Linked DNA regions of Homo sapiens: all the other regions are linked to region 2. The links are contacts of gene promoters, found by promoter capture Hi-C in blood cells and fetal thymus (Javierre and others, 2016). All regions are on one chromosome and are shown on one strand. The core of a region is centred on a gene start or on the middle of the fragment in contact, and the rest is flanking DNA. Distances in the headings are between cores, read along the strand shown.

Region 1 (6,607 bases), core at 3,282-5,781, 1.0 Mb after region 2:
AGCTGATGAGAAAAGATGCCCTCTGTGCTATGTCATGGTAACAGCCTCCGAACTCTGCATACACACTGTATTCTTCCCTTTGTGTGACACTCCAGAAACAACAAATTGCATCCATAGTGATGGAAATCAGACCAGTCGTTGTCAGGGGCCACCGAGTTGACTGGGATAGTGATGGAAATTTTAATGAATACATAGATGTATAAACATGTCAAAACATGTACTTTTTAAAATGGATCCATTTTATTGTATACAAATTTTACTAAATAAAATGGAATGGAAAATTATAAGTGCTGTACTTTCTGCATTGAGGAAAAAGAAAAGTCAACCATTTTTCAGTCAAAAGGAATATGTTACCTAAAAAAGCAAAACAATCAGAATGGTCTCAGGCTTCTCATCTACAACACTGCAAGCTAAAAGCAGTGGAAGAGCAAAAGACTGCACCCCAGGAACCCCTGTTCTCAATAAAGAGATTGTCGAAGTGTTAGGAGCAGAAGGTATTTGAAGATACATAAAACCTCAGTGAGTTTATCACCTAAGTGCCTCATCTAGGAAAGCACTGGAGAAACAGTTCTAATGAAATGGCAAACCCAGAAACGACATAGCAGAGACCTCCGGATGAAGGAGGATGGAGAGGAAGGACGCAGTGGCATGAGGAAGCTTCATCTACTCGGAGGCATCCCGAGGGGCTCAGCCGTTCGGAGCAGCGGAGGGGCACAAACGCTGCAGGGTGGCTGGGTGTGGTCTTCACAGGGGACGGCAGAAGCATAAGAGAAACTGAGGCTGCGGTGTGAGTAGGAACCTGGCTGCAGTGAGTTATGGGTTGAGAGAGACAGTGAGTGTGTGTTTGGTGCACATAAGTAATTGTCTTTTTTTTTTTTTTTTGTCTCACTCTGCCACCCAGGTTGGAGTGCAATGGTGCAATCTCGGTTCACTGCAACCTCCACCTCCCGGGTTCAAGCAATTCTTCCTGTCTCAGCCTCCTGAGTAGCTGGGATTACAGGTGCTCACCACCATGCCCAGCTAATTTTTTTTTTTTCAGTAGCGACAGGGTTTCAAATCCTCTTAAGGGCACATTGATAAGTCTGGTTGAAAATAGGATTTGATTCATCCAAAGCAGGAAGAAGTGACTGCTATGAAGGTGAAGGCACAGCCATGAAAGATTGATCATTCTGCAACTCAGGAGGGTCTGTCTAGGGCCCAGGAGCCCGTGTTTTCCTTATTAACCAAAAATAATTAAGAAAGGCGATGATTCCGTCTGCACCCTGAGCTCTGCACGTTGATTTGGTGATGAACGGAGCACCATTGCCATGAGGACAATTGCCAGTCCTTTCCCGACTGGAAGATGGCAACAGCCCTGCCCCATTTCCCCGCCGTATTTATACTGGACTTTAGAGAACTGTGAAAGCCCATCTGGAAAACACTCAAGGCAGGTGAGTGCCCCTCACAAACCCTGTGGAGAACACCATCCTTCCCTCCACCATCATCACCAGCAACAAACGTTTGCTCAACCCACGGTGTGCAAGGCAGAGGGCCCGGTGCTGCAGGGACAGAAAGAGGAATGAGGGACAAATGAACATGATGGAAGGGAAGGGAAGGATGTCTGTGTTCTCCAGGGATTTGCCATCCACCTGGGTGCTGGTCTGATGTCCCTGAGTCACTGAAGCAATGCCAGCAGCATTTTTATGGGCAGAAAGATCAATGCCCGTAAATAGCAGGGCATCCTCCCTGTCAAATAAAGGTGACCTAAGATTCTACCAGTTCGGGCTGAGCTCTGAGTCACCTATTTATTCAAGTTATAATTACTGAGCTCCACTGCAGAGGCTGCTGGACACACCCCTATTTCCTAGAAATGGAACTCTTTCTAGCACCGTGCATGGCTGACTGGAATAAAACTATACCTCCCAGACTCTCCTGTATCTATGGTTGGCCACATGACTAACATCCGCTTCATGGCATGTAACTGGAAGTGTTGTGTGCTGCTTCCCTAAAGGGAAGTGGCTGTGCCCCGAATCATCCCTCCTCCTTCCTGCTGTCTGATATATGGATATATAGGTTAGATCTAAGCAGCCATCTCAGACTACGAGAACACTGGGAGACAGTGGAGCAGAGAGTGGAAGGGGCCTGGATCCCTGTCGGCTGTGTGGAGCCGAGCTGCCCACACCACCTGCACTGTCCACCTTTGGAGTTTCTGCTTGAGGGAACAAAATCTTGTGTGGTTGGGTCAATGGTAATTCGGGGTCTCTGTTCTTTGCTGCTGAACCTAATACTGGTGGATATAAGCGCCTACTGTGCATCAGGACCCTGTGCTAAGGACTGGGACTTTGAGAATGGATAAGAGAAAGACAGCCCCTGCTCCCAGGGAGCTTAGAGTAGAGAGAGAGAAAGAGACAGATCAAAGACATCATGTTACCTGAAATAAGCCAGGCACCGACAGTTACATTCTGCATGATCTCACCCGCATGTGGAATCCAAAAACGTTGATCTCATAGAAATAGAGAGTGGAACAGTGGTTCCCAGAGGATGGATGGGCGGGGGTAGGAGCTTGGTCAATGGGTGCAAAGTTCCAGTGAGACAGGAAGAACAGGCCTGGTGTGCTATGGCACAGCGGGTTAATAAGAATGTATTATATATTTCAAGAGAGCTGGCAAAGAGGATCTCAATGTTATCACAACACAGAAATGATAAAGGTCTGAGGGGTTGACATGCTAACCACCCTGATTTGATTATTATACCACGTGTGCACGCATGGAAACATCACGGTGAACCCCAGAAACATGTACAATTGTTATGTGTCAATTCAAAACAAAAATTTTGTTTAAAAAGTAAGCTAACAAACACATTCACCCCAGCTGATAAATTCAATAAACTAAGGGAATGGCTTGCTTGCTAAGTTAGAGAATAATGGAGACAGACAGAAAATAGCGGCTAGAAAGGGCTTCTAGAAGGAGGCGGGTTTTAGGGAAAGATGGAAAGAGGAGTAAAGGGCATTTTAAGAAATTATCTCCTATTATTAATCTTGGCCAAAATTCAGAAATGGGAAGAGAGAGGCTGATCCATCTGCAGCCAACAAGGGCATTTGCATAGGGCAAGGACCCAACCCCGCAGCAGAGAAGGGGAGCTCCTCCCAAGCCAGGGCAGGTGGTCTTGGGGTGTCCCCAGTGGGTCAAGCCCTGGGGCTGTAGCTGGCTGTGGTCGGGTTGTATTCAGCTGAGGGAACACTCAGTCACTAGCCTGAGTCTCCAGACTGCCTGAGACACAACGGCTCTTTGCATGAATGCAGATTCCTGGGCCCTGCTCACTGGAGATTTCTGATTTTGTGGAATTAAATTGTATTGGTGAGATCTAAAAAGCCCAAGGAATAATGAACTTTCAAAAACTCAGATTTAAAAGGGGTCTCAGGTTGTCCAGCCCAAACACCCACAGGGCTGTGACCCTCTCTCACCCTTACCTGCCTGCACAGCTACCAGCAGAGGCAGGTTCTGCCCTTCCAGGGCTGCAGTCTTCTCCCTGTAGGAAATTGTACTGAAAGGAAATCTGGGCCGGGCGTGGTGGCTCACGCCTGTAATCCCAGCACTTTGCGAGGGTAAGGCAGGTGGATCACTTGAGGTCAGGAATTCGAGACCAGCCTGGCCAGGTGCAGTGGCTCACACCTGTAATCCCAGCACTTTGCGAGGCCTAGGCAGGCGGATCACTTGAGGTCAGGAGTTCGAGACCAGCCTGGCCAACATGGTGAAACCCTATCTCTACTAAAAATAAAAAATTAGCCGAGCATAGTGACAGGCACCTGTAATCCCAGCTACTCGGGGGGCCAAGGCAGGAGAATCGCTTGAACCTGGGAGGCAGAGGTTGCAGTGAGCCCAGATCGTGCCACTGCACTCCAGCCTGGGCGACAGAGCAAGACTCTATCTCTAAATAAAGAAAGAAAGAAATAAGAAAAGAGATCTGACTCCTCTTGCAGGGCTGCCTCTGGAAATACCGAAAATAAGATTAATCTCTTTTCCAAATGAGAAGCTTTCAACTTACCACGGCCCTGGACGTCTCCTCTTTCCCAGGCTAACTATCTTTGCATCCTACAGCCATTTCTCTTGTAAGCTTCACTGGCAGGCCCCCAGTCCTCTGGTGCAGCAGCCTGGGAAGGGCAGCTTCCTCTCGGCCGGCCCGGATTCCAGAGAGAAGGGAGACGATGGAGACGGGAATATGTGTGCTGTGTTCTTCAGAGGGATTCCACATTCAGGACCCCGCTTCCTAACCATAGCCTGGAGATTTCTGAGGAGGCTTCGAAATGATTTAGTTTAACCTCCTGAATTAGTTTCCTAGGGGTGTCATAAAAAATGACCCCAAACTGGGTGGCTTCAAACAACAGAAATGTGTCCTCCCACAGTTCTGGAGGCCGGAAGTCCTACATCACGGCGGCAGGGCTGGTTTCTTCTGCGGCTGTGAGTGGGAATCTCTCCGGGGCTCTCTGCAGCTCCTGGCAGGTGCGGGGAAGCCTGGCTGCTGGATGCATCACTCTAACCTCTGCCTCTGTCTCCACGTGGCCTCCTTCCCCGTGGCTCTGTGTCTTCTCCCCTTCTCTTCTCTTCTAAGGACTCCTGGCATTGGGTTTAGGGCTTACCCTAAACCAGAATGATCTTATCTCGAGATTCTTATCTTAATGACATGGCCCTTGGGCCAACTAGGGGCACACTCTGATGTTCCTGTTGGACATATCTTTTGGAGGTGGCGCCATTTAACCCAGCAGAACTCTTACTTTACAGATAAATGCCATGGGGGGCAAAAGGGGAGTGGCGTGCCCAGGAGTCCCTGCAGAGTTCGCGAGGAACCTGAGCCTCAACAGCCCTGGTCGGCCCTCCCCGCCCTCTCACATGGAGAACACAGAGACACAACCAGGACAGACGATGGTACGCACGGACCCGGCATTGCTGCAAAATGCGAGGCTTCCATGAAGTTCTCAAGTAATTGAAGCTTACCTCTTTAAGGGACAAAATTATGTTCAAAATGCTCTTTTGATAGTAAGCGTTCTAAACCACAGAAACATACTCTCCCAACGTGCTTAAGAGAATACAAGTTTGAAACAGTCCGTCGGCATTTTGTCGGTAACTCAGGGTGGTTGCCGAGGGGCCATTCCGAGCCGGGGCTGGGCTGTGATCCTTCCAGTTCTGCTCGACTGGCTGGGCCGTGGCCCCTGCCTCAGTTGCCCCCACATCGCCGGCTTCTGGACGTGGTGACTGCCAGCTGTTTCCCCCAAGAATTGGCCCTTCTCAGAATGGCAGCCCATTCATTCGCCAGCTCTTAATGGGATGTGTGATGGAATACACTTTGAGGGGGTGGGTGGAGATATTAATCTTTGTTTTGCTTTCTTATTTCTCCCCCTCATCCAATTTCAAGCAGATCACCCGGCTCTTTGTAATTTTTTTGCCTCGGGGATTTTTTTTCCAGGCAGAACGCCAAAGCAGCTCAAAGCCAAAGGCTCTTTCTGTCTTTTGTAAAAACCTAAACCCATTTCATAAAAACCCAAACCCAGGAGGCGAGTGGGAGGGAGAGGGCAAGATTCACTGAGGCTGGGAAAAGGAGGAGGCTGGTGTCCCCAAGGACCTGAGGTCTGAGCACAGCTCCAAGGCACAGCCTGGGAGGGTGGAGCGCACACGGCTGCCCATGTTGTGCCCTGAGGCTCTCATCCCCGGCAAGGATCCCCAGGCATCGGGCAGGGTGGAGGAACAGCCATCAGCCTGAGGGCAGCGGGACTTGCGTGCGAGTGGCACTGAGGCAGTGGTGACAGCTCCCAGCCCTTCAGCTCTTCTGGGCACCATGGAAGCTTCTGGATCCTGGAGGGACTCTAGGAGGGGAGAGAGTTGCATTTTCTGCCAGCCCCACAGGGTGGGGCTCCAAGTTGGGTTTAAGTTGATTTATGTAAACAAAGAAATGAAACTTCCGGATTTCTGGACAGCACGGCCCTACAAGTTCATGCACTGAGGCCTCTTCTCTGCTCCGAATACGCAGCAGCATTAGAGAAAACATATTTCAACAAAACAAGCCAAGCATCACAGACACCAAAAACAGACAGAACAAAACCCGTGGGTGGGGTCTGAGATGGGGCTTCCGGTCCGGAACCAATGTCGGGGAAGTGCTGGCACCTGGTGCAGCCCCCACGGTTGGGAGCAGAGGCCAGCTGACTGCACAGAGAGACCCCCACCCCAGAGAGGGAACAGAAAGAAAATTCCAGCTGAGTGCTTCTCGGGCTTTAGCTTCCACAGATTCAAGGACCAGGAGGTGAGAGGAAGCAGCCTCCTGTCCAGGACCCAGGTAAGGCACCACCAATGCCATTACTCTATTTGTGATTTAGCCGATGCTCTGTGGGACATGAAACCTGGTTCACGGAGGGCATCCCTGGAGGCTGGGCGAAGACCGATGCAAACCCTCAGGGCAGACAGGGTTGAGTGTATGTGAGAGGCGTGGACAGGGAGAGAAGGAGGAGTGTGGAGAGGGACACGGGGGAGAACCACAGCAACAGGAAAATGACCTTAAAGTAAGTTTTTTAGCATCTTAAAGAGGAAAGACAAGAAATAGCCTAAAAAGAGTAATTGGCTATACACAAAACTTGGCAGAA
Region 2 (6,202 bases), core at 2,457-4,956:
ATCCCTGCCCCATGACTGGCCCGGGATGTGACTGCACAACGTGGGACTCCCCCTCGTAGGGCCCTGCCTCCCACCTCAGCTTCCTCTCCCTCTGCAGTCTGAAATCTTCACCCAGGGGCACAGGCACAATTCCCATTCCCATGTGCCCCACCCTCTGGCTTGCCTGCCTGACCCACAATGTAGAAAGATGGAAGAAGCCACTGCAGGTCTGCTCACCCCGCATCTGTGCCAGGCATGGCATGTGGGTGGCACCTGCTCTGCTTCGCGCCCTCCCTGCCTGTCCACCACACACCGCCTCTCCCTCCCTCCTGCTGCAGCCTGCTGAAAGCATGCTGGCAGGCACATTTCCGAAAGGCCATGTTCACTGGGTCTCATGCCAGTGACCGGCTGCTGGGCCTGAGCAGGCAGGGCTGTTCTGGGGGGCAGGCGCGGGAGGTGGCGGGCTGGAGCTGCTGCCAGAACACCCACCTGTGCCTGTGCCCTCGAGATGCGGAGGGACCAGAACTCAGGTGGAGGACTGCCCCTTGCCTGCTCCACCTCCTCCTCTCTGCTCTTCCTGCTCACTCTCTGTCTTCCTCTCTCCTCTTTTGCCTCCCTCATTCGAATTTCCTCTTATCCCATCTTTGATGAGGCTGAAAATGACAGGAGGTTTTCCTCGCAATTGGGAGGTTTGAGGGCTGCGAGAAAGAAAAACAGACTCAAAAAGCCCTGAGCTTCGCTTCCCGCAAACATGATGCTCCAGCCAAGTGGATCAAGGGTGCCAGTGAGGCGTCCGTTCGGAAGCAGGACGGTTCCCCTGACCCTGATCCAGCCAGGGGCCTGACCAGTCCCCCTGTCTGACTCCCACAGGGAGTGACGGCCCTGAACCATCACATGAGGTCCCAAACTCAAACCTGTATCCAGTCCCAGACCCACCCCAAATTCCATCAACAACTAGCAGCTAGGGGGTGCCCCTCATCCCCTCACATTGGGCCTGGGCCAGACTTCGCCGTCTTGGTGATTTTGGGGACAGGCGTGACAAGGGATGGGCAGGAAGACGTAGGTTTCTAAGACCCTCCACCCCCTAGACCTTGCTGCCGTGTCCCCTCCAGCCGCACGCTCATCTCCACTGCAGCTCAGAAGCATGCGTTCCAGGCATCCTCCCCGGGGACAGATCTTCCCCAGAAACACATTCTGGAGGACTCTTGTTTGGTGTTTATACTTTCCATTGTGATATTAACTCCACAGAACTGGGTTCAGAAAAGCTTTCAAGTAAAATACCTACTTACACTTCAAGACACCAGAAGTAAAAGGATGAAATGTTTTGGGAAATGGTAAACTGTGAAAGTACACCAAATTGTATCACTGTTTTCCTTCCTCCTGAGAGGCATCTGCTCCTGCTAGCTCTGTGCCACTTCCTTTCCAATTCTGCCTGCCCCATTAACATTGAGCTTCTGCCCCCAAACCCTCCCTGATATGTTTTCCCTCTGCCGTTACCAATGGCCTCCTACCTGCCAATCATGCTCCCTCCTCTTGGAGGAGCCACCGTGTCCTGGCTTGGGCCACACGTCCCCGAGTGTCTCCCCACGTCTCCCACCACCTTCACCAGCCCCTCTTCCTCCTCTTCCTGCTTCTAGAGGGGGAGGCTTCTCAACTTTTATTCTTGCCCTCTTAGTCTTCATATTTTCCTTGGTCAATCTCATTCACATCCCTGCAGGCAGCACAGATTGACTTCCTGGTGTCACTTTTGATTCTCAGGGACCCAGCCAGAAAGCCTCGTTGAGGCTGCCTTCAGCACACACCGGACAGGTTTGCCCTTCCCACGCCTCCTGCCCTGGCCTGCGCTCCTGCAGCCTTTTCCCTGATGACCTCAGGGTCTCTGCACGGGCTCCCCCTCCTCACCTGACTCCTCCAGCCCGATCTCAATGCAGTGGTCAGAGTCAGCCATTTACAGTGTGGGTGGTGCCATGCCACTGCCGTCAGAGTGAAAGCCAACGTCCTCACCATGGTCCTCACCACCTCAGGCTCTGAGTGGGCTCCTTCTGCTCTTGGTTGTCACTGTCTCCTGCCACTCCCTATCACTCTGCTGCAGCCAGCCTTGCCCCAACCCCCTGACCCCCTTCTTGCACTCCCCAGCCTGCAGCCTTTGCACCTCATTTTCTCTCCACCTACGTGTGTCCGACAGACAGCCACAGGCTAACTCACATCTTCTTTGAGACTCTGCCCTGGTGTCGCCTCCTCTCTGGCACATCCCCACCACCACCCCCCAGCCCACCCTGACCTTCTGTTCCCATCCACTCACCACCTTCCACACTCTAAATAATTTCCTTACATATCATGGGTATTATTTATTTTTCTGACTTATTTCCTGCCTTCACTAGAATTTACATTTCATGAAGGCAAGAGTTTGGGACTGTTTTTTTCTCCTGATTTATCTCAATTGCCTGAAACAATGACTGGCACATATTAGACACTTAATAAACCTTGGACCGACCCCCTACACATCTTGACATCTGACCTCAGTCTCTGGTGGGCGTTCTGGATGTCAGGGGTACTCCTGGAGCTCTCTACAGGGTGTCCCATAGGCGCTGCAAGCCCAGCATGCCCCAAACTAAGCCCCTCATCTTCCTCTCTCTCCTCAAGTGCACTTTCCCCCTCTGCAGGGAAACCCTAATGAAAGCAGAAGCCTGGAGGCACCCTGAAATTCCTCATCTCTGGGAGCAGCTAACAGTAGCATCGGGAGCTCAAGTGAGCCCATCAGGAAGAAGCTACGTCTGAGGCAAGTCCTGAAGGGCAACTGGCAGGGCAGCAGTGGGGACTGAATCAGCACGGTGCTCTCATGGCACTGAAGAGGTGCCTCCTGCAGCAGCCAGGGATTCCAGGAGGGGCAGGAGCAAGAGAGGCAGTGAGGCCATAGAGAGGCTGACTCAGGAGCAAGGGGCTTATGCTAAGAACATGCAATGGACGTGGCCAGGAGAGAGGTCTGCGTGTCATTCCCTGAATGTCATTCCCTGCTACTGGGATGATGGATCAGACAGAGTCAGGAGAGACTGGAGGAAGACCAGTGAGAGAGCGGTGACAATAATCCAGCCTGGGAGGGACGGAACCTGAACAAGGACAGGGTGGATGGCAGCCCATGAACGTGGAGACAGCAGACCTGATTCTGGAGGCATTTAAGATGTGGGGCAGAAGGACTCAGGCGTGCTCGGGTGTGGAGGGAGGGGAGGGGAAGGGTCCACACGGGAGCTCAGTGGGGCATCCGGGGGGCGTGGGCAGCCGCACCACTCCCTGAGAGGAAGAGCACAGGGGCAGGGGCTCCATGGCCAGGGGAGGTCTTGAGTCATTGGCTGGACACAGGAGTTAGTTCTGCAGAGGGATCGGGGCAGCCTGGGAGTCGTCAGCTGGAAGTGACTACAGGAACCGCAGGGGCGGGTACATTGTTCTGAGTGTGGACGGTGGGGACGGAAGGCTGGGGCCACAGCGCCAGACACTGAAGGAAAGGGGAGCAGAACAAGAGCCAAAATGTGGGCCCAGAAATGAGCAGAACGTCGCTGGCTTCTGGGGACAGCTAGTCCCCGAGGTGCACAGCGACAGAAGCCGCATGGCAGTGGGAGGAGGGAGTATAACTGCCTGTGAGTCTTTATGTATGGGAGGAAGAGACCTCATCAGAGGCATTCGTGGGAATGTGCACCCCAAGAAGACAGGGGACATGGGGACCCAGAGGTATCTGAGTAGGAGCAGAGACACATCATTGCCTGCCTCGCGCCCTGCCCTGCAGCTGCAATCAGGTAAGCAGTGGGCAGACGGGGCAGGTGCTCCCAGAGAGAGGGGCCATGCTGCGAGCAGGGTGCATCTTGCACTGTCCACAGGGTGCATTGTGAGTGCAGGACCTTGAACGGTGTTGCCTCAGATCTTCCAGCTTTTCAAAAGAAACCAGATATTGGTGCCTCTGTGTGAAATGTTCTGATTTTCAAAAACAAAGGTCAAAGTGAAAGTTTTAGAGAATTGTCCTTCTGAAACGTGCAGGATAAATGACATCCCAATATACCCAATATACAGGCGTGTGAGGAACTGGCTTGAGAGGTGCTCAGAAGCCACTGGAATTCTCGGTCTGCCCCACCATAAAATCTGTCTCCCTATTTATGTTTAAGAAGCGGTGGCTCATGCCTGTAATTCCAGCACTTTGGCAGGCTGAGGTGGGCGGATCACCGGAAGTCAAGAGTTCGAGACCAGCCTGGCCAACATGGCGAAATCCCGTCTCTACTAAAACAGACACAAAAATGAGCTGGGCACCTGTAATCCCAGCTACACGGGAGGCTGAGGTGGGAGAATCGCTTGAACCCAGCAGGCGGAGGTTGCGGTGAGCCGAGATCATGCCACTGCACTCCAGCCTGGGCAACAGAGTGAGACTCTGTCTCAAAAAAAAAGAAAAGTCACAAATAATCTTTAATTGGATTATTCTTTAAAAATCAGTGCTGAAAGGAAATCAACGAGCAGGCTATGCGTGTCGGGCCCACGGGCTTCCAGCTTGGGCTCTACCCTGTCGTGTCCACAGAACAGCAGCTTAGGAGAGGCTGGAGGACCGGCAGGCATCGCAGGCTCTGTCCATCTGAAATGCACTTTCTGATGTAACATATGAAGAACAGACCCGGTTGGTTTTTAGCATGGGTTTAATGAACTATCCTGACATCATGTTTAACACAATCCAGGCTTTCCTTGCTAATAGTATCACAGAAATCCTCAGCTCTGATGTAGGGCTTTCTATACTTTCTCTATGCTGTTCCATTGACTTTATGGTGGTGCTCGTTATCTTTAGTATTTATTTTATTAAATTATTATTTTATTTTTATTGTAGTTTTTCTATCCAAAATAGAAACGCCTCTTCATTAACCTGCTTCTCTTTTCTTCTTCCTGAATTATTTTAGCTATTCTCATCTGTTTATATTTCCAGATGATTTCAAGAATTATTTCATCCTGTTTCAAGAAAAATATAATTTGGTGAGATTTCAAATAGAATTGAGTTAAATTTCAAAATTGATTTGGAGATACTGACATTTTTACAATATACTTTTTTGAATCTAAGAATATTCTAATTAGTCATTGTTGGTATACAGGAAGACTACATTTTTGATATTCATTTTGAAATCCCTTAATTATAATAGTGTAGCAGATTTTTCAGCTTAAAAGTCCTGCCATCTGGAAATAATGATAATTTTGTCTACTTCTTTATTCTGTTCTGTGGTAGCTAGTACAATGGCACATTGTTACGTAGCAGTAGTTACAACAAAGAGCCCTGTCTTAATCCTGACCTTGGTGGAGCAGGAATGATCCTGGTATTTAGCTGTGGGGATGCTGTAGGCTGTTGGTTGAGGCTGGTATTATTTATCATGTTAGGAAAAATCACTTCTTTGGGGATGACAGATGCATGAAAGTTTTGGGAGAGTTTTTAATCAAAGCCTTTTAGCATTAGCTAGACTTCAAATGTGATCCTTTCAGCAGATTTGCTAACCTCGAAGTCTCTTTGCACCGCTGAAATAATCACGCTAGTGCCACGTGAGCTCTTTTAAAGTGCTGCTGGGTCCTAATTGCTGACATTTTATTTGAGTTTTTTAAGTATAGTAAAAAAGAAAAAAATAATCGATACATAGTTTTTCTTCCCTGAAATCTTCATCAGGCTTTCGTATCAGGAATTTGCTATTTTGTAAAATGAATTGGGACTTTCCCATGCTCTCTAAGGGTTTACCTAATGTAGGAAAGATCTGCTCCTGGCATAGCTAGAAGCTGGGCACAGGCAAAGTATCTGGGCCTGTCGGTTTTCTCTGAAGCAATTTTAACATCATGATGCTGTTGAGCTTTCTGTCTTCACTCAGTTTTCTCAAAAATAGACCTTTTTCTTGCCTTTAACAGTCACTCTTCTATGATTGCTTTTAATCATCTTCTAAGCCCCCAGTCTTCCTTGTCATCTGTAAACTGAAGCTGGAAGAGGACCACTGAATAAAACACATATTAGGTGCTTGGTAAATAGCGCCAACCCTTCCCCTGTCATTTGGTGGGTCTCCACCTGCAGTTTACTCTTTTTTTAGTCTCTGAAATTGCGTTGCATGCTCATATTTTCCTGTTTCATCTGTTTTACTGTCCTCAACTCTAAGCCTACTTCAGAACAAGTTTTTGCTGCTATCGATCAATTCTATTATTTTTTCTAATTCATAAAAAATGATTTTTA
Region 3 (6,677 bases), core at 2,193-4,692, 1.0 Mb after region 2:
GATAAAGTCATTTTATTTGGGAAAAATTAATTCCTGGAAACATCAATAGAGTGTTCATTTACTCATTAAATAAATGCTTTTCTGTGGAAAGAAATGGTCTGTATGCACCACCACCCTGCACCCCCAAATCCCTTTGGCACCTTCTAGAATGGAGCGGCCAGGGAAGGTGTGAACAGCATTCACTCAGTCTGTTCTCTGTGACGTCCGTGAAGAGGGCCTCCCTGCACGCCCCTCGTAATGCTGTGGCTTCAGGTCTGCGTTCAGGTTTTCAAATGTGGACTTTGAGAAGGTACGTCCAGTCAGTGCTTCCCTAGCACTGTCCTGTGCTCAAGGTTTTAAGTACTGGCCAACTGGAACATTGTCTGTTTGGGTCAAATGTTCACTTGCATGTATCACTCGCCTCTCAGGGCCTGTTTTCCCGGCACGGGGCTACTCCTGGCCGGTTATTGATGCTGTTGTACCGTATGGACAGGGCACTGGCGCTACTGACATTCTCCAGTCATATATCGACTTCATTTTCAGAGCTTTACCAGGTGTTCACATTTTTTAGCCCCATATTCAAAGACGTCTTGGCTCTGACCTTCTCGTGCTGTTTCTGGCACCCCAAGTATGAGGCTCCCCTGGGTCCTCCAGGGCTGGCTTTGTCCCACACGGTCCCGCTGGCTGCAGGTGACTATTCAGATGAGACCCAAATTCATTAAAGTGAAATTCAATGAGAAGTCCTGTTCCTCAGCCCCTCAATCACATCTTGAGGGTTTTATAGCCAATGTGGCTTGTGGCTGCCGGAGCACACAGCTCAGAGACAGGACACATCCACCACCGCAGAAGACGCCTGGCACCTTGCACACGGGCTCACAGCAGCAACTGTGAGTCCTCTGCAGTTCTTTGTCCATTTCCCTTTGAGAAGTGACTTCTGAGGTGAGTGTGTCTTACCTTAGTGGGTTTGGAGCAGGTATTTGTCACCGACTCCCAAAGGAGGGGATGACTCGAGGGCCCTCGCACGGAGGAGGGCAGGGCCTTGAAAGTTGCCGACGTCAGGCCGGGTGCAGTAGCTCACGCCTGTAATCACTTTGGGAGGCCGAGGCAAGTGGATTGCCTGAGGTCAGGAGTTTGAGACCAGCCTGGCCAACATGGTGAAACGCTTTCTGTACTAAAAATACAAAAATTCACTGGGCGTGATGGTGGGTGCCTGTAATCCCAGCTCCTCAGGAGGCTCAGGCAGGAGGATCGCTTGAACCCGGGAGGTGGAGGTTGCAGTGAGCCGAGACCACACCACTGCACTCCAGCCTGGGCAACAAGAGTGAAACTCCATCTCAAAAAACAAACAAACAAACAAAAACAGCCGGTGACGTGGGTGAGAGGGCTCTGTGGTAGCAGGCAGCAACTGGAGCTGGAGAGAAGGATGAAGTTGGGATTTGATGAGCAAAGGGGTGCAGCTGGGACGGGCAGGACACACTCGCTCTGTCAGCACAGCCTGCTGCCACTCCAGGGAATCTCTGCTGTGGATTTTTTGCCATGGACTGTCCCTTCTGTGGCACCTGTGTCCCAGGTGGGCCCATGCCCCAAGGACAGCCTTCTGATGAGCTGCCCAGCAACCCTGACCCTCTGACCCCCAGGACCTGGCTCCCAGCGACAACCTGGGTTGGGAATTTGGCAGTGGGAGACCAAGGGCTGAGTCAGTCCCTGGGAAAGCTGAGCTGAAAATCATGAGGCTAGTTTGGGGTTGGGAGGCTCCCGTGGCCACAGGGCAGGGCGAGAGGAGGGACAGAACCCAGAAGCCAGGAGAAGAATCCCGAGGATGGAGCCGCTGGTCCCCTGGGCTGCCCAGCAGGGTTCGAGCCCCATGCTGCGCCTGGGCCCACCCGAGCGTGGCTCTGTGCCTTGTGGTCAACATGCCTGGGGGGAAACAAGGTGTCGGCAGCTGGGTCCCTGGCTGTGCGCGCAGCGTGGGCCACCACGCCAGACAAAAGACGCAACTCTGTTGGCTCAGCGGCGCTGTGTGTAGGGCGCGCCTTGGCCCGGCCCCTGTTTGGGGGAACATCTGGTTCTGATTGCGTTGTCCTAAAGATTAAAACTCTTCTGGGGCAGTGAGGGGAAGGGCTTGGTGGCCTGGAGTTATGGCGTCCCCTCCATAGGCGTGCCGGTCCTCGGGAGCTGCTGAAGGCCACCGGTAGGGACCCGCCGTCCTGGCCACTTGCTTGGCAGGACCTCCTGGAGTGCAGTGGCCACTGCTGGGGGCCCTGTGGGAGATTTGCTGAGAAACTGAGAAATGCCAGATTCACACCCGAGGCCTGGAGCTGAAATGGTGCTGACATGAGGGATGGCAGGGCTGACACGTGGCATAGACACGCAGGCCTGGAAGTGGGTCCATAACTCCTTCAGTTTCATTAGCGGTGGGGAGAACATCCTCTTATCACCCCAGACGTTCCCCGGCGCCATGCTCGCCCTGGGTCCTCAGGCAGACGAGGCCAGCATCGTCACGGGCTCTGAGGGCTGTGACGCCTGGTCCTCATGCAGCACTGCCAAGGTCACCAGGGAGGGACAGCGATCCTGGGTGGCTCAGACCAGTTCTTTATTTTTCTATTATTTGTTGTCTAAAACCCTCTGTTATTTTTATTTTTTCCTACTTTTCTCAGTGTCCTAAAAACCCTGCCAATATTTTAGAAAACATCACCTTGAATCAGATTCAAACTCGCCCCGCAGCTCCTGTCAAACTCAGCTCTGTGACCTGGGGACAATAAAACCGGCTGGGAGTGCCGGCCCAGGGTGGGCTGCATCTGAGGCTCTCCACGCATGACATTCTCCTGCCTTGGTTCTCTGGGATCTGGGCCCTTCCTGCTTCCAGCGCCACGTTCCTGTTGCTGACAACTTCCAGGAACGGCCCCCAGGAATGCACTGAGTGTGCTGACAGGGGGAGCATGCTAAGTGTGGGCTGCGAGGGATCTTTTCTCATCATCTATTGAGCTATCCACTCACTCTTCTTGTAACGCACGTCTAGTAATGTTCGCTCTGGACCGTTCCACTCAGGGAGGCTGAGGATTAGGCCACGCGACCTACAGGCCTGTGCTGGCTCGGGTGGCGCTAGCATGACTGCAGCTGGCTGTGCTGCAGGTGCTCCGGGACTGTGGCGGGGAAGACGCCCTGGCGGGGAAGAGAGCCCCGTGTGGATGGATGGAGCTGACAGCCTGGTTGGGCAGACACAGATCTCGTCCCTCTCTGCCCCCAGGATGTGCTGGTGTCTCTGCTGTAGGCAGACACAGCCCCGGTGCTGCCTCACCTCTCACCTGGCCTCCTTCTAGAAACGTGTTCCAGAAGGGACCAGAATAACTCATGCTTGGAACTACGAGGACATCCGTCATGTACCCAGGAAGCCTTTAAGGCAAAGTGATTTCAGCTAAAACAGCTTCTGTGTCGCTGGGACCCTGGGCCCCTCTCTGTGTCTCTGTGACCCGACCCCTCTGTGTCGCTGAGACCCTGGGCCCCTCTCTGTGTCGCTGGGACCCGACCCCTCTGTGTCGCTGGGACCCGGCCCCCTCTCTGTGTCGCTGGGACCCGGCCCCCTCTCTGCAATGGAGTTAAGAGAGAAAAACACGTGTGCAGGTGGGAGGATCTCTGAGTGCACACTCTGAGTGGTGGGAGGATCTCCGAGTGTGCACTCTGAGTGGTGGCAGGATCTCCGAGTGTGCACTCTGAGTGGTGGGAGGATCTCTGAGCGCACACTCTGCGTCTCGGGGGTCCACATGCTGCCTTGGGAGGTCTCTGCAAGGCCACTCCTCAGGCCAGGGCCTCCCTGGCAGCCTGGAGGCTGGAGCCTGAGGGAGACAGGGCCCTGGACAGGGTGGGCCAACGGTGGGGGCGGGCACACTGTTATTTATGAGTTTTCCTGGGGCTGCCAAAGTGAGAGGCGCTCCTAGGGTCTGACCCCCTGCCCGGCTCTGCGCTGGAGGGACGGCCGGGGCACAGCTGCAGCCACCCACAGAGGCAGCCACGTCCCAGCTGTGGGGGAGGTGAGCATGGGCAAAGCAGGGCACATACTTCTGTCCTAAAATAGATTTTATCTCAAAAAGAAAACAGATGGGGATGGAGATGATTTTTTTCTTCTGAAAAGTGCAGGAAGCAGCATAGAGCTGCCAAGCAGCTCCCTCTCCCACCCAGATGCAATTAGAAACTTCCAGAACCCACTTGGTGCAGAGCCCCCGGGACGACCTGGCCTGGGGGGGGCGGGGGGCGGGGTAGGGGGTTGAGGTGGGAGCAGCAGGTGGCCTGCATGGGGCTGCTGCGGACCCTCCGTCTCCCCAACCCCGCCATAGTGAAGGTGAAGCCACGTCAGAGGGCACAACGCGAGGGGCCCTGGTCCCAGCGGAACAGCAGAAGCGTGGATGCAGTCCCCACCCCCCGGATCCCTGCCACACCAGGACCATGGGTGTGGCAGGGACCATGTCTTGCGCAGGACCAGACACAGAGGAAGCCAGGCGGGCAGAGCTGAGCCTCCCTGGGAGACAGTACCCAGGCCAGTGTCTCCTGCCCTAGACAGCACCTCCAGGCCAGCGTCTCCTGGAGCAGACACACCCTCGGCTCTGCTGCTGGGGGTGGCTGAGCCACAAGGTTGGCAGAGGGGACCAGCAAACCCTGCAGAATGCGACCGTGGAGGAGTCTGGATGCAGGAGGCTGAGTTTCCTGGCTGCCTTTCCCACTTGCCTGTAAGTTTCTGTCTTGGGAACGCCCAAAAGTGTTAGCAGGTCTGTCTCATGATTAATGCTATCAGAGTAAAGTCTTGATTCAGCAGAATTCCTCCTGACTCGGTTTTTGCCACATGACTCACTGTCTAACATGGAGGGAACAATCACAAAGTTTCTCAGTGAAAACATCCCGCTTATTCACAGTGAACCTGGGGAGACCCTGAGTGTGGGTCACGAACACGATTCTCAGGTCCAGAGAGGGTTAGGATGAGATTTTATGATCAGGGATGATCAGAGATGTGGGTTTCCTTCTACTCTATGGATTACAGATTTGTACCCAAGTTAAGGACACATTTCTTCTTTGACAGTGTACCCTGTGGGCTTGAAGACTATGGCTGCAAGGTGTGTTTCTGCAGCAAGGGAGAGAAGACCCCTGGGCCTGCAGACCCCACACTGCGGGAGGAGCCCAAGAAATTCACGGACAATTCAAAGGCTTTGGTTTCCAAACAACACATGCAAAGCAAATATTCTGAGGCTTTACTCTGCAAATACACCTCACCATGGCACACAGCATATTCTTAGCTCAGATCTCATGACAAACAATAGTGGCCCCAAGTAGCTGAGGCTGCCACCGTGCTCTGTGGCCAGCACAAGTGGGGCCAAGCAGTGGGAAGGCCCTGGCTACTCTGGGCCAGGGACAGGCCTGTTTGTTCACAGGGATGTGGGAAGCCTGGAGTTCTCACTCTGCAGGACAACTTTATGGAAACCCTGGGCATCCTGAGCTCCCCACAGCCACCAGAAAACAGATGGAAACATGAAGAACAAGAGGGGGCCAGAACCAGGAGGGCAGCTGACACCCTAATCATGGCCACCAAGGGCAGTGAGTGTCTGCACACCCTCCTGTGGCCTCAGTGCCCTTCAGTGTGGCCCGGTCAACATTCCAGGAATGGCGGAGTCGTGAACTGCATTAGCAAGGGAGGCTGCCCCACCTGGAATGTGGGGCTGATATGGGTTGGCTGTGTCCCCACCCAAATCTCCTCCCGTAGTTCCCATAACCCCCAACGTGTCACGGGGAGGGACCAGGTGGAGGTAATTGAATCACAGGGGCGGTTTCCCCCATCCTGTTCTCATGAAAGGGAATGAGTTCTCGGAGAGCTGATGGTTTTATAAGGGGCTTCCCCCTTCACTGGGCACTCATTCTCCTTCCTGCCACCACATGAAGCAGGATGCGTCTGCCTCCCCTTTGGCCACGACTGTAAGTTCCCTGAGGCTTCCCTAGCCCTGTGGAACTGTGAGTCAATTAAACCTCTTTCCTTTATAAATTACCTGGTCTCAGGTAGTGCTTTATAGCAGCGTGAGAATGAACTAATGTAGGGGCTTACCTGGGGACCCTGCTCCAAGCCAACTGAGAGACAAGAGCTAAGGGTCACCATCCACAGAACAGCGGAGGCGGCTTCCAGACTTCCCACAGCCCCCCTGCAGGGCGTGGGGCTTGGGGGAAGAGGGCATGGCCTGGCTGCTGTTCTAAAGTCTCGATTCTTCTAAGGAGGACAGGGAGCACAGCCCAGACAGGAGCACATGCAGGACCTGGGCTGCCCATAGGGCCCACGGCTGCTGTGGCAGCAGCTGTTGGAGTGGAGGAAAGGGTGGAGTTCCTACCTCGCCACTGCCCTCTGCATGCAGCCAGCATCACCCTTTGGGTTTCTGTCTGTGGCGAAGTTTACAAACACTGAGCATCCTCCGTCCTTGAATTGAACTCGGCGCCAGAGAGGCCCCATCCTCGTGCAGTGGGGGAGGGAAGCCAAGGCAGCCCCTGGGCCCTGAGCAATCCCCCAACCCCCAGCCCCAGATTTTATGGCACTACCCATCAATGAGATAGACACTATGAGTGAAATTGGGGTGAAGAAAAAAAGTAAGAGGAAAAGAAATCAAGATGAAGCCAAGAATCAAAAGAGAACCCCAGATGCACACCAAGTGATTCTGTACAGTTGCTAGGGG
Region 4 (6,340 bases), core at 271-2,770, 1.1 Mb after region 2:
AGAGAGAAACAAAGGACGGAAAGACGCAAAGGACGCTTGCTGGCTTTCTCTTTTAAACGCCTGGCTGACCACATCCCCGACTCTGGGCTGAGCCAGGGCCCGAGGCTGGCCCCAGGCGCTGCCCGGAGCGGGAGGCAGAGCTTACGCCTTGCATCTTGCCTGATGACAGACCTCAGACAATTTCTGGGGCAGAGGAAAAGAGCATAATAAGCTTAATTTCAGCATTGTAAAGGTTATTATTATAATCATTTCCCTCTGAAGAATTGTAAATAATTCATTTGCAAAACTCTAGTTGAAGTCTCTAATTAGATTCTCCTTGGGCTCTTACAAAGCTCCTTCCGCCTCCAGTTGCGAAATCCATCTAGTTTGTTTTTTGTTTTGTTTTGTTTTGACCGTCTCTCCATTCAGCATGCTAAGAAATCAGCCTCATATTGTTTTCTTGTGTTCTCAAATTATGTTTCAATGGTGTGTCCTGCCTGTCCCCTCACCAGGGATGCTTGCGGGAGGGGAGGATGCAAGGGGGTGAGAAGGGCATTCTTGTTAGGCCACATTTATGCTCCTCTCTCGGGGTCGTGAGGCGTCCCGGGAGTCAGATGCTCTGGTCCCTGCCTGCCCTCTGATCTCCACGCCTGAACCCGGCAGAAGAGGGAGGGTCTCCTCAGGAGCGGGACAGAGCCTTCCACAGTGACCCCAGGCTTTACCGGCTCTAAAATCCAGGGCTGTCTCTACTGGGGCTAACGCAGTAGGCGCGGGTCTCTGATGCATCAGAAAATGTCCCTGCCTCTGTCTTCCTCGTCCTCCAGATCCTTCTCCTGAGGCCACAAGTGAGCGTCCCCAGGTGCACTTAGAGAACTGCGGCAGGTGCCAGTGCAGACGGCAGGTGACGCTGCCAGAGGAAGGAGAGAGGGTTTCTCAGGGCGGCGTCCACCTCAAGGGTGGAGGGTCTGGGGGTGTGCAGGGCGTGGACTGGGGAGTGTCAGACTGGCCCTGTTTCCACCTGAAGAGGACAAATGTGGCTGCGCGTCGGCACAGGTGTCCAGGAGGGGCTCTTGGAGGGGTCTCTAGGGAACACTGACCCGGACTGTGTGTCCTGGAGCTCTGCGGTCGCCCCATGCGCCTGCTCCCTGGGCCTGCCTGAACCCGCGCCCCGCCGAGCCCCCAGACCCTGCCTGAGCCGACCCGCCCTGAGCTTGGAGCCCTCCGCGCAAGGAGACAGCCCCAGGGGAGCGAGAGCGAGCCTTGCTTCCCAAATGGCCGGGGATAGTTTTGAATTTAGGGGTGGGTGTGTGTGCCAGGAAGAAGGTAACTTGAGCACGTCCTGGGTCACCGAGAGGGTCCCTGCATTTGGACCTTGGGGCCGTTGGTTGCGCAGGGCAGGTGAGGCCAGGGGCTTAGACCAGGGCCTGGATCCCAGCGAGCCAGGGAAGAGCAGGGCGGCCCCGCGCAGAGGCTGAGGCGCCTGCCCTGGGGCTGGGACCCTGCACGCATCTCCCACCACCTGAGGCAGGGGTCCCACCATTCTGTGGGCGAGCCTGGGTTTTAGCCAGCCGACCCCTCCCCCGCACGTCCCCTCCTTGCTGTGGATCTGAGAGGATGCGCCGGCGCAGGGATGAGAAAGAGGCAGCCCGCGTGGAGAGGCAGCGGGGCCGGACTGCAGGGAGTGGACTCCTCTTGGAGGAAGAAGGCGGCAGCGAGGACATCGCTACTGCCTTTGTTCCCACTGGGAAGGGGCGGGCCGGGAGCTGAACCAAGGTTAGAGGGCGATGGAGAGGGGAGCGAGGGCCCCAGTGTGCCAGGCCCAAGCCTCCCAGGAGAGCTGTCCGGCGGCCCCGACAGGCTGGAGTGCAGCCTTCCCTCCGCAGGCCTAGGGCTGCGCTGCTGGAAGCCCCGGGGCTCTGCCAGCCAGGGTGTAGCCTGGCTCACTGCAGCACCACGAGCCGAGGGACCCTTCCTGGTACAGGTTTTGTCTCGGAGCTTTCTTGGGAGGGAGGGAGTCGTTCCCCGGTGTGACGCAGGTGACCTTGGTGGATCCTCCCGAAGGCCACGTGAGCACCGCTGCAGGAGCTCTGTAGGGACGGGTTGAATGGCTGTGGCAGCGGAGAGGTTAAATTAGGAGATTCATATTGACCCCCCTAAAAAGTACTGTCCCTTGAACGGTCGCTCAGTAGAACAGGGTCTTCTTGGCTCTGCAGCAGCCCCGTGGAGCCTGGGATGAGCGGTCCTGAAGTTTGAGCAATTGCAAGGGCGAGGTCAGGGGGCGCTGGGGACCCTGCCTCCCAGCAGGAGGGGAAAGACCCTCCCTGAGGGGCCCGCGCGGGCTTTGATTGTGTGCCCAGACTGAACACGTCCATCCTGGGTAACCTCTGGGGTAAATACTCAAACTCCCTGGGCCCCAGCTCTATGGTGGGGCCTCCCGCTGAGCGCCAGGGGCCGGCAGCCCCCATCCCCACATTCCTGTTCGGTTTTTGTGTTGCGCCCCTGACATTTGTGTCTCTCCCGAGGCCCACCTCGCCTGTTTTTACGAGATGGCTGGACGTGGGAAGGCCCACGCTTGGACGCTGGCTTTGTCCTTTCTGGTATGAAGATAGCTGGCTTGCGAGTTAGTAAACTCATAAACTTGGTCTTATAAACACTCATCATTCCAAATGTGACATCACCTCTATGTACATACATCTTCTTAAACCCAAATATGCAAAAATACCTCCCAAGCAGCTGCCACATTGCAGAGAATTTAATTAAAGGAAAGGCCCCTTTTGGAAATGTGTTTATTTTACCATAAAAAGGGATGGAGTTGCCCTTTCTGGAAGTTTTTCTCTCTAATTAAGCTTAGCCCTGATTACCGCTCTGGAGGTGGCACCCGTAGGAGTCCTGGAGGGAATGTCTCTGGGCTGATAAAACCCAGGACAGTTCAATGAAAGCCAACACAAACGGACTCAAAAGCTGTGTGATTTTTACAAAGGAGGAGAAGATGAAAGCCCTTTGGTACAAAACAAAATATGTATTTTTAAAAATTATGGTTAAGCACATGCTCATTGACCTGGATTCTGCCAGCGTCATGCATGGTTCCGTACTTCTGTAGGAAAAGCAGCTCCCCACCAACCACAAAAATGACTGTGTCTCACTATAGATGCACATGTTGAAGCTTTCTTCAGTCAAGTCAGAGACCTTGAATGCTTATTTTTTCTCAAATTTTGATATATGTTATTTGACAATAATTTATTTCTAAACAAAAATATTTCCTCTTCAAATCATTCAGACCCTTTCTTGGAAAACAGGTGAAAACATTGAACAGGATCATTTAATATTGACCCTGCTCACAGCAGAGTTAGATGGTGGATCCTGACTCAGTCTTATAGCTGAGAAGAGAGAAGCCAGGTTGGAAGCTGAGTGATCTCCATGCTTCCTTTAGTTACCTGTTGCAGAGTGAGAAGCTGACTACACAGATGGACACTGGTCAGACCGTGTATACAAACAGAGCGGCCGGGCGTGGTGGCTCATGCCTGTAATCCCAGCGCTTTGGGAGGCCGAGGCGGGCTGATCGCCTAAGGTCAGGAGTTCAAGACCAATCTGGCCAACATAGTGAAACCCCGTCTCTACTAAAAATACAAAAAAAAGTAGGTGGGTGTGGTGGCGCACACCTGTAGTCCCAGCTACTGGGGAGGCTGAGGCAGGAGAATTGCTTGAAACCGGGAGGCAGAGCTTGCAGTGAGCCGAGATTGCGCCATTGCACTCCAGCCTGGGTGACAAGAGCGTGACTTCGTCTCAAAACAAACAAACAAACAAAAACAAAGCTCTGGCCTGCAACCTGCGGCAACCAGCCCCGGAAACCCACCCCTTTCCTACAGTGACCAGCCCCGAGGCCAGCTTGCTGTCAATAAGCCAGATGTGGAGGAAGGCAGGCCACCATCTCCAGCAACCTGTCCAGGAAGCCAAACAAGAGCCTTTGTAACAACTGACCCCAAGTGGCCAGGATTCAATGAACAGCTGACATCTTCCCTAATTTTTGTCCCTGCTTCTAACATAGGACCAACTAGAGAAAGCCAAATATACCCATAACCACCCACATGGGTGTCCTGCTTTTAGTGAGCTGTGTTCAGCTCCCCCACTATTCACAGATATTATGATTGTGTGCCTAAAAGTACATAAAGAATCTAAGTTGAATTTATTAGAATTAATAAGAATGTAACAAGTTGCTGGATACAAAATCAATATACAAAGATCAATTACATTTTACATTCCAGAAACAACTAGGGAAAAAAACAGAAAAACAAACCATTTTTTAAAAAAAATGAAGTCCCTGGAAATAAGCTTGAACAAAATGCATATGAATTCTATGATGGAAAAAGAGAACTTTTTATAAAGACATTATTTATTTATTCATTTATTTATTTTATTTGTTTGGTTTTTTTTTTTTTTTTTTTTTTTTTGAGATCGTCTTGCCTTATCCCTCAGGCTGGAGTGCAGTGGTGCGATCTCAGCTCACTGCAACGTCCACCTTCCAGGTTCAAGTGATTCTTCTGCCTCAGCCTCCCAAATGGAAGAATACATTAAGTTCATGGATGAGAAATAGCTAATATATGAAGATGTAAATTCTTCCCAAATAGGTATGTAGATTTCATGCAATCCCAGTCAAAAAGTCCATAGTTTTTAACGCTTATACACTGTTGGTGGGAGTATAAATTAGTTCAACCATTGTGGAAGACAGCAAGGTAATTCCTCAAAGACCTGAAGACAGAGATACCATTCAACCCAGCAATCCCATAGGTATATACTCAAAGGAATATAAATCATTCTATTATAAAGACACATGCACGGGTATGTTCGTTGCAACACTATTCACAATAGCAAAGACATGGAATCAACCTAAATGCCCATCAATGATAGACTGGGTAAAGAAAATATGATACATATACACAATATAATTATGTAGCCATAAAAAAGAATGAGATCATGTCCTTTGCAGCAACATGGATAGAGCTGGAGGCCATGATCCATAGCAAACTAACACAGGAACAAAAAACCAAATACCACATGTTCTTACTTATAAGTGGGAGCTAAATGATGAGAACACAGGGACATATAGAGGGGAACAACACACACTGGGATCCATTGGAGGGTGGAGGGTGGAAGGAGGGAGAGGATTAGGAAAAATAATTAATGAGTACTAAGCTTAATACTTGGGTGATAAAATATCTGTACAACAAACCCTGTGACACAGATTTACCTATGTAGCAAACCTGCACGTGCACCCCTGTACTTAAAATAGAAGTTTTTTAAAAAACCTCTAAAAAACCCCCAAAAACAAAGCGTCCATAGTTTTTTTTGGGAGGGGTGGAAGGCAAGGGTTAGGGTGGAATTTGACACCAAATGACACTAAAATGTATATGAAAACATGAAGGGCCAAGAAGAATTAAGCCATTTTTGAAAAATAATCACAAAGGTTGGCCTCATTGTTTACAGGTAGTGGCAGCAGTAGCAGTCTTAGTATCTGAAGCAGTTAAAATAATACAGGGAAGAGATCTTACTGTGTGGACATCTCATGATGTGAACGGCATACTCACTGCTAAAGGAGACTTATGGCTGTCAGACAACCGTTTACTTAAATATCAGGCTGTATTACTTGAAGGGCCAGTGCCGCAACTGCGCACTTGTGCAACTCTTAACCCAGCCACATTTCTTCCAGACAATGAAGAAAAGATAGAACATAACTGTCAACAGGTGATTGCTCAAACCTACGCTGCTCGAGGGGACCTTCTAGAGGTTCCCTTGACTGATCCCGACCTCAACTTGTATACTGATGGAAGTTCCTTTGTAGAAAAAGGACTTCAAAAAGCGGGGTATACAGTGGTCAGTGATAATGGAATACTTGAAAGTAATCCCCTCACTCCAGGAACTAGTGCTCAGCTGGCAGAACTAATAGCCCTCACTCGGGCACTAGGATTAGGAAAAGGAGAAAGGGCAAATATATATACAGACTTTAAGTATGCTTACCTAGTCCTCCATGCCCACACAGCAATATGGAGAGAAAGGGAATTCCTAACCTATCAAACATCAGGAAGCCATTAGGAGATTATTATTGGCTGTACAGAAACCTAAAGAGGTGACAGTCTTACACTGCCAGGGTCATCAAAAAGGAAAGGAAAGGAAAATAGAAGGGAACTGCCCAGGGGATATTGGAGCCAAAAGAGCTGCAAGGCAGGACCCTCCATTAGAAATGCTTATAGAAGGACCCCCAGTATGAGGTAATCCCCTCCAGGAAACCAAGCCCCAGTACTCAGCAAAAGAAATGGGGAACCTCACGAAGACATAGTTTCCTCCCCTCAGCATGGCTAGCCACTGA

The links. Contacts are between HindIII fragments. The CHiCAGO score rates a contact against its expected background, and 5 or more counts as called.
Region 1: a fragment that was not itself captured here is called in contact with the fragment with the promoter of OR6B3 in region 2 in 5 of 17 cell types (fetal thymus, M1 macrophages, neutrophils and 2 more); the score reaches 7.0 in fetal thymus.
Region 3: a contact is called between a fragment that was not itself captured here and the fragment with the promoter of OR6B3 in region 2, in 7 of 17 cell types (neutrophils, M0 macrophages, monocytes and 4 more). The highest score is 6.2, in neutrophils.
Region 4: a contact is called between a fragment that was not itself captured here and the fragment with the promoter of OR6B3 in region 2, in 4 of 17 cell types (M1 macrophages, M2 macrophages, M0 macrophages and 1 more). The highest score is 7.3, in M1 macrophages.

The regions. Positions count from the first base shown.
Region 1 is chr2:239,002,323-239,008,929 of GRCh38, reverse strand. No RefSeq gene overlaps it. Among named protein-coding and RNA genes, the nearest start is that of MIR4440, 63 kb to the left of the region's middle. The HindIII fragment of the contact is 873 bases long and covers 4,095-4,967 here.
Region 2 is chr2:240,051,025-240,057,226 of GRCh38, reverse strand. OR6B3 (olfactory receptor family 6 subfamily B member 3) reads left to right here and starts at 3,706. Exons shown (of 3, transcript NM_173351.2): 1 at 3,706-3,767. RefSeq lists enhancers at 1,111-1,751, 1,752-2,394. The HindIII fragment of the contact is 11,088 bases long and covers 1,247-6,202 here.
Region 3 is chr2:239,023,363-239,030,039 of GRCh38, reverse strand. No RefSeq gene overlaps it. Among named protein-coding and RNA genes, the nearest start is that of MIR4440, 42 kb to the left of the region's middle. The HindIII fragment of the contact is 9,608 bases long and covers 1-6,677 here.
Region 4 is chr2:238,981,512-238,987,851 of GRCh38, reverse strand. No RefSeq gene overlaps it. Among named protein-coding and RNA genes, the nearest start is that of LINC01940, 58 kb to the right of the region's middle. RefSeq lists enhancers at 909-1,889, 1,890-2,872. The HindIII fragment of the contact is 2,614 bases long and covers 214-2,827 here.